Linked DNA regions of Homo sapiens: all the other regions are linked to region 3. Evidence: promoter capture Hi-C in human tissues and cell types (Jung and others, 2019). All regions are on one chromosome and are shown on one strand. Each heading gives the region's core, a stretch centred on a gene start or on the middle of the fragment in contact. The rest is flanking DNA. Distances are from core to core; before and after follow the strand shown. Region 1 has its middle 110 kb from the start of HGF. Region 2 has its middle 66 kb from the start of HGF. Region 3 holds the start of HGF (hepatocyte growth factor). Region 4 has its middle 74 kb from the start of HGF.

The links. Contacts are between HindIII fragments. The study calls those that stand out against the background at their distance.
Region 1: a contact is called between a fragment that was not itself captured here and the fragment with the promoter of HGF in region 3, in 2 of the 25 tissues and cell types used here (IMR-90 fibroblasts and lymphoblastoid cells).
Region 2: a contact is called between a fragment that was not itself captured here and the fragment with the promoter of HGF in region 3, in 3 of the 25 tissues and cell types used here (dorsolateral prefrontal cortex, hippocampus and lymphoblastoid cells).
Region 4: a contact is called between a fragment that was not itself captured here and the fragment with the promoter of HGF in region 3, in 2 of the 25 tissues and cell types used here (bladder and small bowel).

The regions. Positions count from the first base shown.
Region 1 is chr7:81,881,634-81,885,016 of GRCh38, reverse strand. No RefSeq gene overlaps it. Among named protein-coding and RNA genes, the nearest start is that of HGF, 110 kb to the right of the region's middle. The HindIII fragment of the contact is 4,216 bases long and covers 1-3,383 here.
Region 2 is chr7:81,834,090-81,837,577 of GRCh38, reverse strand. No RefSeq gene overlaps it. Among named protein-coding and RNA genes, the nearest start is that of HGF, 66 kb to the right of the region's middle. The HindIII fragment of the contact is 3,334 bases long and covers 1-3,238 here.
Region 3 is chr7:81,768,395-81,771,831 of GRCh38, reverse strand. HGF (hepatocyte growth factor) reads left to right here and starts at 1,785. Exons shown (of 18, transcript NM_000601.6): 1 at 1,785-1,948. The coding sequence starts at 1,861. The HindIII fragment of the contact is 8,838 bases long and covers 1-3,437 here.
Region 4 is chr7:81,694,623-81,698,208 of GRCh38, reverse strand. No RefSeq gene overlaps it. Among named protein-coding and RNA genes, the nearest start is that of HGF, 74 kb to the left of the region's middle. The HindIII fragment of the contact is 5,057 bases long and covers 1-3,586 here.

The DNA of each region.
Region 1 (3,383 bases), core at 364-2,863, 110 kb before region 3:
GAAAGCAAAAGACTGCACATGGTGGCTGGGACTTCCTCAGCTCTGGACAGATGTGAGCACATTTTGGCCAAAAAACAAGGGAGTGGGAGAGGGAGAGATTTCTCAGAGCAGAGCTTTGCTATTGTCTTTTGAAAGGGAAAAAAGATTATACCTCTAGGTTAAAAAGCAAAACTAAACCGCAGTTATGTAATTTTGAAAGATTCCTAAATCAGTATTGGCATTATTTGTAAAACATCAGACTTCAAAGAAATAACCTAAGAATTTCATGTGACCTCATACTTCATATACTCCATTAAAAATGCAATTTGTAAAACATATATCAAATGGTTAGTCTCAGGAGAATATGCCTCAGTAAAGACCAGACGCATGGTCTATTTCAACTGTGTGTGGCTCTTCATTTTTTCCCCTATTTCTTCACATGCGGGACAGGACTTCTAGATGAATAAAGATACGGTGTGTTTTCCAGGACATAATTATCTTTGGGCTGTGATCAAGCATGAGAAATTTCTATCCTGTGGAATAATATTTGAAAGTTATAAAATGAATGCAAGTTCATGGGTAATTCTACTTTCATATCGTAAACATACTGTAATTCAAATATATTTTCTATGGAAAATACTTAGGAATTTCTAAATTATATATTTTCTGGTAATATACAGATTTGGGATCTTCACAAAATTGTAGTGTGGCAAAAATGTTAGAGATTTTCTAGTCCAGTACTCCCATTTTGCAAACAGGTAAATAAAGACATAAATCATTTCAGCGAGGGAATGCATTCTAATGTTGTGATTAAAAACTAGCTTTCTGTTTCGGTGCTAACTCTAGCCAATTGCTAGTGTCTCTGTACTCATTTCTTCTGAGAAAGATTGAGAGGTTAAGTTCAGATTCAGCTGGAAAGGGTGCTACGATCAATTAACATCTACCAGAGACATAGGATCAGATATGAGAAAGCAAAATAGTCTTGAAATAGTTGATGGGAGTTGTTAACTAGAAAAAGCTTACAAAGTCGATAAGACCTGGCAGTAGGTCATGGTGCTACACTTTCTTTTTGAATAAGTTTAGACTCATTTCTTAACATTTCTATACCTTGGTTAGGCGCAGTGGCTCACGCCTGTAATCACATCACTTTGGGAGGCCGGGGCTGGAGGATCACAAGGGTCAGGAGTTTGAGACCAGCCTGGCCAATATGGTGAAACCCTGTCTCTGATAAAAGTACAGGAATTAGCCAGGCATGGTGGTGGGCGCCTGTGGTCCCAGCTACTTGAGAGGCTGAGGCAGGAGAATCGCTTGAACCTGGGAGGCGGAGGTTGCAGTGAGCTGAGATTGTGCCACTGCACTCCAGCCTGTCTCAAAAACAAACAAACAAAAAACACCATAAAAAGCATTTCTATACCTCAATTTTCTCGTTGGTGACGCAGGAATAAATTAATTATTGGGAAAATATTTGCTAATTTGACTAGAGCTTTCTTTACAGCACTATATTTACTTTTCAGAAGCAATGATGCTATGTTTCGTATCGGCTCACCTACTCTCCAGACTGGCTTTAGTAGCCCATGTTATGACAGTGAAAAGACACTCAAAAGAATCTGTGGAAAATTTAGTATAAACTACCACATAAAGAAAAAAAAATTTTTTTGAAAAAAGTCACACGAAAGGAAAACCTGAGAAATATCACAATATACGATGTTAAATACTACATGGGCAAGCATATTTAAACTCTGCTATGAACTACTCATGAGGAAGAAAAAGTTCATAACCAGGTGTCGTGGCTCACGCCTGTAATCCCAGCACTTTGGGAGGCCGATGAGGGTGGATCACCTGAGCTCAGGAGTTCGAGACTAGCCTGGCTGACATGGTGAAACCCCATCTCTACTGAAAAAAACATACAAAAAAATTAGTTGGGTGTGGTGGTGGGCACCTGTAATCTCAGCTACTTGGGAGTCTGAGGCAGGAGAATTGCTTGGACCTGTGAGGCAGAGGTTGCAGTGAGCTGAGATCATGCCGTTGCACTCCAGCCTGGGCAACAAGAGCGAAACTCCATCTCAAAAAAAAAAAAAAAAAGAAAAGAAAAAGTTTATTTAAAAAATAAAAAATTACACAAGAAATCTAAAGGGCCATATCATAATAAGCCAACTCTCTAGAGATTTTCCTAAGAGCAGATAAAGAAAGCATGGTCAAGTCAAACTTCTCAGAGACAGAGGTGACTATATTTTGTGCTGGAAAAACTATTTCTGCAAGACTAGCAAGTTGGTGTTCTGAGTGAACAAAACTGTAGGTAAACTAGTACCAGGACAACGAACATTACAATGGGAACTTTCGTGTTGACAACTCTGACCACATGAAATTGAATGGTGGCAACAAAATGGGAATTCCTCTCTTTATAAAGCTATAGATAAAACAGGAAAATACAAACGAGTTTTCTGCTTCTGTTGACCATGCATCTGCAGAACTAAAGAAAAAAAATCTTTCCAAATGCTTAGACTAAAATTAGTACCATCTTTGTGGCTGTCTTCAGTAACATTGATGTCTTTCTTTCATTTTAATAAATTTAGGGTTGTCAATAATGTAAATTGTTTTAGTGATAAATTTGTACTTGATTTTTTTTGTTTGTTTTTAGGCTGTGGTGTGAGACTTAGATTGTTAAAAACAGCTGTTGTGAGAGTTGTGAAAATAGAGAATTCCTAAAATGACCAAAGGCCAGGAAATATCTGTGGCTAAGATAAAGGAGTAATAATTTCCTCTCAACCCGGGGTGAAAGTAAAATGAGGACAGCACATTGTAATATTCTAGAACTGTTCAAGGCCTAAAAATTCCACAAGAAAGAATTTTTTAGAGCTGAAGAGAACATTTAAAACATAACCGCATATTTTATACACACTTGAAAACACATTTGTTCATCTTTGACTTGGCTGGTGAAATTGATATCATCATGTGTAAAGTGAGACTTTCTAACTTATATAACTTAGAATAAGAATAATACTTATTAAGTGTGTACTATATACCAGGCACTGATAATTCAACTGTATCTTGAGACTTTGCTGAAGTTTCTTATCAGTTCAAGAAGTTTTTAGGCTGAGATGATAGGGTTTTCTAAATAGAAAATCATGTCATCTGCAAACAGAGACAACTTGACTTCCTCTCTTCCTATTTGAATACCCTCTATTTCTTTCTCTTGCCTGATTGCCCTGGCCTGAACTTCCAATACTATGTTTAATAGGAGTGGTGAGAGAAGGCATCCTTGTTTTGTGCCAATTTCCAAAGGGAATGCTGTCAGCTCTTGCCCATTCAGTATGATATTGGCTATGGGTTTGTCATAGTTATTATTTGGAGATATGCTCCATGAATACCTAGTTTATTAAGTTTTTAACATGAAGCCCTGTTGC
Region 2 (3,488 bases), core at 322-2,821, 66 kb before region 3:
TTTGTGTATGTGTGTCCGTGTGTGTGTGTATGTATGTGTGTGTGCAACATGGGAGGGGGTTAACTTCATTTGTTTGAATGTTTTTTACAGGTTTTCAATTATAATTTTATTATATGTGAAGTTATTGCTATAATTTCTTTTTATGTCTGTTCATCTCTGTTTATTTTGGCTTCTTCCTGCAATAAAAAGGGCTTATCTGATTTGTTTTATTATCTGATAGGCAGATCCTTTGCATTATACCTCTAAAAATTGCCCTATTTTCTGGAATTTATTTTAAAAATAAAATACCATATTAAATAGTTAAGGGTCACATCCTAATAGCGGAATTGTGATAACATGGAATTGTAATCATTATTTGCAAAAAAAACTTACACCTTTACTGATTAGGTCTCTCCATCCAGGCACAATATAAACCCAATAATTCACGTTTGAGTTTGTTTTTGTCATTGAAATTTTCTCTCCTTTGCTCCTTCATATCTCACTTGTTTAGTTCTTTGGTTATAATCACTAAAATTACCGTAACAAACAATTTCAAATCAATTGAACCTTTATAGGGTATCTCTATAAACAAAGAAAAATAATGAATTTAGGAAAAATAGATGGCCAGAGTAACTCTGAAGATCTAGATAGCAGCATGTGAGGGGCATCTTTAGTTCTGCACCATAAAATTGGGATGTTGCCATAGGAAGGGGAGGAAGAGAGAGTGGGTAATCAAAAGCAAAAGATAGCCTCTATTTTAAGCTTATTATCTTGATTATCAGTGTGAATCAAATAAGGCATTTTAACTTGTGATAAGTTGGTTATTTCTTGAATTAAGTAAATTTATAATTTTTAAAATATTGCTTTAATAATTTTTTTTGTATTCTTTCAATCATTGGAATCTATCTTCTTGAATTTTCTAGGCATTCAATAATATTATCTGTAGGTACTGCTTGTTTTGTCTCTTCCGTATAAAACTCATGTTAATACATATTTTCTTGTCTTATTACATTATAGAATATAACCTAATATACTGGTAATTTTCACACTTTTAAATTTCTAATTTTAACAGAAATGCCTCTAGTAGTTCATTATTCAACATGATTTTGTGCATGTTTTTATATCAAGTATATAGACTTTACATTATGGAGTATAATCCCTAATTATAAACACACACACATACACAAATGCTTTTTACCATATTAATAAAGATTATTTCAATCACTAGACTAGGATTGCTTGTTTATTTATTTATTTATTCATTTATTTATTATTTTTTTTGAGACAGAGTCTTGCTCTGTCACCAGTCTGGAGTGCAGTGGCGCGATCTCGGCTCACTGCAACCTCCATTTCCCGGGTTCAAGTGATTCTCCTGCCTCAGCCTCCTGAGTAGCTGGGACAACAGGTGTGCACCACCATGCCCAACTAATTTTGTACTTTTAGTAGAGACAGGCTTTCACCATGTTGGCCAGGATGGTCTCAATCTCTTGACCTCGTGATCTGCCCACCTCAGCCTCCCAAAGTGCTGGGATTATAGGCATGAGAATTGAATTTTTAAATTAGAATTGTATATTAATTTTTTTGAAATGCTGTTTGGGATGTATTGAGATCTAGTTGTTTTTATTGTTTAATAAAATGAGATATTATCATCAGATTGCTTTTGTTGAATTATCCATCTGCTTATGAAATAAAACCTTTTTCATGATTATTATTTCAGTAAGAGCATTAGAATCGTTCATACTTTATTGTAGCATTTGCATAGACAATTGTAAGTAGGCTTTACACATAATTTTGTTATAGCCATTTTGGTAGTTTTTAGTTTTGGAATTTCATTTCTCTTTGAATATAAACTAAGAATGTGCTTTCTAATCATTATTTTTCTCTATGCCAGGGTTTCTCAACGTTGGCACTTTTGATTATGGGGTTGATAATTTTTTGCTGTAGGGGCTGTCCTATGTGTGACAAAATGTTGAGCAGCATATCTAGCCTGTACCTACTAGAAGCCATTAGGAACACCTAACCCCACTTCCTGTCACCTTGCCCAGTTGTAACAATCAAAAAAGTTTTTCAGACATTGACAAATGTCCTTTGGCAAACAATCACCTCCGGTTGAAATCCACTGGTGTGTGTTTTGGAAAAGTTTAATGTTTTTCAAAATTTATCTAGGGGACTATTTGAACTTGGTACCTTCTATGGAGTGGCATGGGGTTGTTAGCAAGTTCTGTGAATTCTACAACTCAAATATTTAGTTAGACCACTTATACCAGATTCTTATCATTTCTGCCTGAACTATTTGATTTTATTGATTAATAAATTGTAACTAAGAGTTTTAAAATGCCGCAATTCAAATTTACCTTTGAACATTAAAATATTAACCCAGAGAATTATTTATAGAGGAGAGCCACAAGTCGCTATCCAAGTTTGCTTTACTTTGTAGATAATCAGGGGATAATTATCTATATTTCAGAAGCTTTAAAACTAGAATTCATAAGTAAAATGCTGAGTGACTAAATCAAGGTTGAAAGGGGTTTATAAAGTGAAAGGAAGAATTTCGGTAAATGTGGTAGGAACATTTGTAAAGTTCTTGGTTCAAAAATTCCAAGCATCAGCTGTAGTTTAGTGCTAAAGTGAGCAGCATGGAGGTTGATGGTAATTGAAAGGAAAGAACATTTGGAAAACGTGAACCGTGTAAAGGTCTTTTGTGAAAATTTTGGGAATGTAACACTATGCTAATATAAAACTAGTTATACAGTATACTTACATTACTGAGTATACCACTGATATATATTATTATTTATAATTAAAACAAATTTTAACTGTTACAGTACAAAGAATCACTTAACTATTTGCACAAAAAAGTAAGTGTGATATATTTAACAGAGCACCATGCAGATAAGTATTAATGCCTAGGAACTTCATCTGGCCCTGTCTGCTAGATACAGGGTTGACTTTGGGGGATGAGAGTCCTTTGCAGGGGCTGGCACATCCACCCAAGAGATAGAACAGAAACAATGGTAAAAGGCAATGTCAGACTAACAGGCAAATCTAGCCATAAGATTCATTTTGAAATAGACACAAGCTTGCTGTCTAAAGCCAGTAACAGTATCAGTTACTCTGCTAGGGTGTAGGGACCAGGCACATGTACTGATATGGCAAAATATAAAGCAGGAGCTTCTGCATAGGTATTAATAAATAGGCAAAGATCAAATCATCAGAATAAAGATTCAAGTGAGAATAAGGTAAAAGCTGTTATTAGAACATAGCTGTGGGTCATTGCAGGGGTGACTTATGTTTAGTCTCACAGTTAGCTAGAGCTCCAAGTATCCCACTAGGATGTAGGGAAATGTTGAGTCTGCAGGTGGTTTTCAAGGAATTCCAGCTGTGTGGCATGCAGGGCTTCAGCCTTGAGAATTTTACTTGATGGTGAATTCACTGTAAGCTTACTTGGGATGTCAAAAAATGTAATGCAATTTTTATTTTTATATAGCAATATAACATCAGAATCAAAG
Region 3 (3,437 bases), core at 536-3,035:
TAAAGCACAAGAGATGCAGTGGAGCAATTCAGGGTCACGGTCAGGCTATGCATTGAACTGAGATTTCCCAAAAAGTCTACTGAACAGTAAAAAGAAAGTAAAATGGATCCTGGGGACACCAGACAGAGGCTGACAAATGATTTTTAAGTAAGGAGAAAATGATAAAAGAGAAGGATTAGCAATAGAAACGGGTCATATAAAATAGATCCCTCAAAAGGAATTCTCTTAATCCCTAGCTTCTCTAGATATCCCACAACCTCAGGGACTTATCAGGCAGGTTGTTTTTCCCTGAAAGTGGGGGTAAGGGAGCTGGAGGACAAATGAAGGTGGTATGTGGAGGGAAGGCTGTTCTGTGGATGAGTTTAATTCAGCCCCACAATCACTTCTGTACAGCTACCCACCGCTCTAGTCATTCCCACATTTGGCCTGCTTTCTTTTCCTCTGTGGACAGGGGCACTGTTCTCTACTAATATCCATCTCAGAGAGATACAGGGGCAAGTATCCCTCAGCATCCATTAGAAATAAAGCAGGCTCTTGCTTAAAGTTACCAGAGCATCCACCTCTGGGTGCAAAGACAAATTCTCTGAATCAAGTGAGGGGTCTGGGCAATGATCTCACAAGGATTTGATACCTAGGAGTCCCCCCATGCCCATACAAGCTCCTCATCTTTCCACTTACACTTTGGGAAGCTGGCTGTCGTGTACAGGCAGATGAAGCTGGAAAAGAGAGGCATATTCAGTACTCACGAATTCAAACAGCTTGAGGGATTTCCGGTGAAAGTCAGTCCTAACCAGTGTATACGTACATACACACCAACATGTGTGAATGTGTTGTGTGCACGTGTGTGCCTGTACAAGTCCACATGGCATATTTACCTGTCAGGGACAGGCTATGGACAATGACTGTTTCTTGGACTTTCTCTTAAAAAGTCAGATCAGACAAGTTTATTTTGTATACTTTGGGTAAATGTGTGGTATTTCGTGAGTTTGGCAGTTTGTGAAAAAAAAAAAAAAAAAAAAAAAAAAAAAAAGCTGCCTGCTCTGAGCCCATGGGGCAGGGGCAATTTTTTCATCTGACAATCTGCGTGCTTTTGTTTTGCTTGCTTATTTTGGCCCCACAATACCACACCCTTTTCTTAACTAACCTCTTTCTACCTGGGCTGGACGTGCCTGGGCTCTCCTCCCTGGCCCCGCTCCCACCTCTCCCAGGTCTCTAAACCCCTAGAGAACCTGTGTCAGTGTTTTGAATCCCTCAGTTGCTCTAGCAGGAAAACTAGACAGATTAGGAGCTGGGGCACATTTGGCTGAAAGACAGCTCTTCGCTTTCTTCTTATGCTGCTTCCCCTTCCTCTTTTCCCAAATAGATATATAAACACATGTATTTTCCTGTTTAAATTGAGCGAATTGGTCCCCTGCCTGTGCCTTGATTTAGCCATTGGGCTCAGCCTTGCTCCTCCCTTCCTTACTCGGATAGGAGCCACTGGGATCTGGAGCTCCAGCTTCCAAATTGAAGCTGGCCTCAGGCCAGGTGACCTTTTCTTTGTAAGTTTCTTTCCTAAGCGTGGGGTTGGGGGGAGGCGGGGAATGGGGGGGGTTGCAGGGATCTGTTTGGTGCTGTTGAAGGGGGGGCGAGTGAGGAAAGGAGGGGGCTGGAAGAGAGTAAAGGGCTGTTGTTAAACAGTTTCTTACCGTAAGAGGGAGTTCAGACCTAGATCTTTCCAGTTAATCACACAACAAACTTAGCTCATCGCAATAAAAAGCAGCTCAGAGCCGACTGGCTCTTTTAGGCACTGACTCCGAACAGGATTCTTTCACCCAGGCATCTCCTCCAGAGGGATCCGCCAGCCCGTCCAGCAGCACCATGTGGGTGACCAAACTCCTGCCAGCCCTGCTGCTGCAGCATGTCCTCCTGCATCTCCTCCTGCTCCCCATCGCCATCCCCTATGCAGGTTAGTTCCCTTCTTCTTCTTCATTATTAGTATTAGTATTTAACTCTCCTGCTAACCTTCCCTATTCCTTTTAACACCCTCTTTTTACCCTATTCCCAGCATCCTTTCTGAACTCAGTATGTAGTATAGGTTTCTAAAAGCTCTCATTATGCTTTTTTTGACATTCTTTTTTGTTGTTGTTTGAATAGCATTTAAAATGATAATTAACTTTCCCTCAACTCCCCTCCACCTCCAACCCAAGCCCCGTCCCACTTAGCCTAATAGTTGTGGATTATGAGATAGGGAGGAAGTGCTAATACTGGCTGAACTTGGCTGCTTTGGACAAGTTTAAAGCTAAAGAGAGGGTCTGGTCTGAAGAGGCAAGAGTGATGGTCAGTCCGGCAGGAAGTCATCCTTTTCCAGAGAACAATTTTTCATGATAATGCACTACTCCACATCACCTAGTCAACATTTGGAGCCAAATTACGACTTTGTACAGGTTTTCATTTTGAGGAGGCAGAATAAACTCTGAGTATTTGCATATCATAAAAATGAAAGAGAAAGCCTCTTTTTAAAGATCTTATTCTTTCTGGGTACGGATGCCTGCCCTTTGAAACTGCAGTGCACGGAGACTTTGATTAAAGCTGCAGAACTGCCCATCTCTGTCTCCCACTTTCTCCCTTGGATTTGCCGTTTGGGGAGGAGTTGCTTGAAAGTTCATATTGCTTGGAGATTTAGAGATCTCGTTTGCTGCTCTGGGAAGTTTCTCTTGTTATCAGGGCAAGAGGAAACATCTGTATTTTGTTGTATCATTGTAGAGGCTGAGGTGCCAACGGGAGAAGGCAGTGAATATCAAGGGTAGGCGCAGGGGAATAAAAGAGTGGGAACAAATGCCCAGATGGAGACATGGCCTTTTTACAATATAAAAAAGAGAACTGGCTGTATCTTTTGAGATGGTAAATATGACATTTATCAGACCTTTGATCTAGTTTTTGATATGGTACAAGGGTTAAAAAACTCAAGAATTTTCTAAATGCAAAGGAAAATCATTCAACCCACCTGGTTTTCTTTTATTTTGTGAAGTGGCCCGTTTGGAAAATGACACTGTTTGGAAAGGGTCACTCTGAAAGCATTTAGGTAAGATTTCTGAAGAAGTGAAAAAGCAGTGAGTTCAAATCAAGCAGGTTATCATGCTTGACATGTGTCATGTTAAAATCGCTTCACAGGGTCGGGTGCGGTGGCTCACGCCTGTAATCCCAGCACTTTGGGAGGCCGAGGCGGGCAGATCACGAGGTCAGGAGATTGAGACCATCCTAGCTAACAAGGTGAAACCCTGTCTCTACTAAAAATACAAAAAATTAGCCAGGCGTGGTGGCAGGCACCTGTAGTCCCACCTACTTGGGAGGCTGAGGCAGGAGACTCTCTTGAACCTGGGAGGTGGGGGTTGCAGTGAGCCGAGATTGTGTCACCGCACTTCAGCCTGGGGAACGGAGCAAGACTCCATCTCAAG
Region 4 (3,586 bases), core at 1,087-3,586, 74 kb after region 3:
TATATTCTGCTATTTAAATAGAATAGTCCAGCAAATCTTCTTTAAGAGATATTTGAACAGGGTCCTCAGTAAAATTTAGGGAGTGAATTGTTTAAATACCTGGGGTCTGATAAATAATACTTAGAAAATATTTTTGTTGGTTTCTTATTTATTTACTCTTATAAATTGTGATGCTCTAAATAGTTACCATTTGTCAGTGTCCTGAATAGAATCATCTTGGTCTGCATTTCCTCTGTGTTTTAGTCCCGGAGTTCAATTGCCATTCTATTTTATTATTCTCCTACACAGGGGCCATCCTTAACCTATACAATCCTTAAAAAGTTTTCTACATCACTTTCACCAAATTACAAGCCTCTCATGTATAATTCACATTAAAAGGTTTATTCTTGGCACTCTATAGTTTTCTTTTGTCCCTTATATTTACAAATATCTCGATTGCACGTGTTATTTTTAAAAGCCAAGAATTAAAAGTACGATGAAAGGAATACTTCTAGTAATTGGCGAAGAGTTTACAGTATTATGAAGAATATATTATTGCCTAAAGAACAGCTAAGCAAGACAGAAAATACCTGGCAAAGGAAAGAAACTTAATTTTATTTTATATAATTCAAAAGAAGTATGGGATCATAGGTTATATGTTTATTTATGGATTTTAAAAGTAAATAATAACATCAAAAAAGCACCAATGAAAACAAAAAACTTATCAATCTGACATACAATCTAACTCCAAGCCAACTTCAGACCCTCATCCCACTCAAATACTACTTAACATTATTTTATTTTCATCATTTTTGAACATGTCTTCATATTTAAACTTCATGTCTGTGTTCAAACAGTCCCCATGAACATCATGCTTTTCTTCAACATTTAAAAACCTTCATATGTCACTGGGTTTCCTATGTGATTCCATCCTCAACATCCCTATCCAAAAAATCATCATTTCCTCAGCTTGCCGCAGTGGCTGCTTACGCTTTCTTATATATATATATATATATATATATATATATATAAATGTTTTATTATTTTATTATTATTTTTTCCCACAAGTTATTGGGGTACAGGTGGTATTTGGTTAAATGAGTAAGTTCTTTAGTGGTGATTTGCAAAATTTTGGTGCACTCATCACCTGAGCAGTATACACTGCACCATATTTATAGTCTTTTATCCCTCACCACCCTCCCACTCTTCCCCCCAAGCCCCCAAAGTCCATTGCATCATTCTTATGCCTTTGCGTCCTCATAGCTTAGCATCCACATATTGGTGAGAACATACGATGTTTGATTTTCCATTCCTGAGCTACTTCACTTAGAATAATAGTCTCCAAATTCACCCAGGTCACTGCAAATGCTGTTCATTCATTCCTTTTTATGGCTGTGTAGTATTCCATCATTCATATATACATATCTATATATGTATATATAAATATATACATATACACACATATATATCTCTCTCACCATATATATGTATACCATATGTATAGATATAGTATTCCATCTATATACATACACACATCACAGTTTCTTCATCTACTCATTGATGGGCATTTGGGTTGTTTCCAAGATTTGACAATTGTGAATTGTTGATGCTTTCTTTTCATTTGTTACAATAGTGTGTGTATGACTGAATTAGATCAGTTTCGATTTATTCTGCTTTGTTTTTTTAATTTTTTTTTTTTTTGAGATGGAGTCTCGCTCTGTTGCCCAGGCTGGAGTGCAGTGGCATGATCTCGGCTCACTGCAACCTCCACTTCCTGGGTTTAGGCAATTCCTTCATCAACTACCTGAGTAGCTGGGATTACAGATGCATGCCGCCATGCCCGGCTAATTTTTGCATTTTTAGTAGAGACGGTGTTTCACCATCTTGGCCAGGCTGGTCTTGAACTCCTGACCTTGTGATCTACCCACCTTGTCCTCCCAAAGTGCTGAGATTACAGGCATGAGCCACCACGCCCAGCTATTCTGCTTTGTTTCAATGTGCAATCACCTCCAGTGAGTTTGAGCTCCTTGAAGACATTTAGCATTGTCATATTAGTAATATTTGCACACTATTTTGTACAGTGCTTCACATATTATGGTATCCAATATACATTTTATAATTATTAATATTCTATAATTCACCCTCTTCTTGAAGCCTTATCAATGTTAACAAGACATTTGGGATTTTTGTAAAAATTATGCAACTCTCAATGAGGATTAAGAATTTTAAGATTTTATATTTAGTTGCATTATTTAGATTTGAATTAGTAAGTGGGGCTATTTTAAAATATTTTATTGTATTTATACAATAGACAATGCAGCTGGAAAAGAGAAATTATTAACTTTAGAGAGTTTATACATTTATATTTGCAATGCGGTTATTAAAAATAGAAATAAAAAATTAAATTTCAATTTGCTTATGGATAAATATATTGTTTTATCAAACTAATAGAGTTTAGATTATGCTAGTGAATACTTTTTCCCATCTGGAAAAAAGATTCTTCCATGAAAGGTTGATGTCATAACATTGGAGGATAAAGTTAAAGGATAAATTATTGCAAAAATATCCTGAGTCCACAATAGTCCACTCATTATATACGTGCAAATATCCAATCTGTTGTGCATTGAGAAGTTTCACAGTATCATTACTTAAGGAACAAGAGGTTTTCATTTGATGAGTTTTCTTAACTGAGAGAAATGAACATGCGTAGCATGTTGCAAGGAAATGAGGTGAACCAAAGGCAGATGGATTTTCATATTAATTATTTTTCATGTAGTTTTAAAGCTTTACAAAAGTGTGAGGTTTTCAAGTTTCTGACTTTTTAGATGAATTAAAACCTAAATGTAGTAATAGCTCAAAATATATTGTTGTGCCGTAAAACAAAGAATTTATATCCTATTAAAAATAATGAGTAATGTAACACGTGGAAAATTGACTTAATGAAATAAGTGATTAAAGATATCTAGATTAGAGAAGAGAAGGTGCAAATATGATTAAATATGTTTCTTCAGTTGTCCAAAAAGTCTTTCTGAGAGGAAATGCTCAGGTCCTTTTGGTTAAAAAAGTAAGAATTTGTGAAAAATAAGATTGACATTTCAATCAGATAGTTTAGGTACCAGGCAGTACTTCCCAATAGTGAAGGTTGCAGAATATGTGAATGAACAAGAAGAACAGAATCTCTAACTACAAACGTTTTCTAAAGAAGGAAATATTTCTTTAATGACTTTCATAAGCTTTAACCAAACTGGTCTTTTGCAGGATCCTTAAAAGCTATACTGAGAAGAACAAAATGTTCAAGGCTTAAGTAAGCTTTGGAGATGCTGGGATGCTTTATACAGGCCACTTTGCTGTGGGATAGTTAAGAGCCTTTAGATGCTCATATGTGTCTTGAAGCTCCATGAGAGAGTATGGTAGAGGACATTCTTCAGATTTACTGTATTACAGAACCCCCTTACAATTACAGAGCCAATATTTCATTTCGTCTTAAGACACTAGAGTTCTGATAAATGCAGTCCGGAAAAACTTGATTTCCAAATTTACTTTCTAAATGAGAGGCAGTTATTACTACATGGTTTGAGATTTCTATGTCTTTATAATGTACAATATG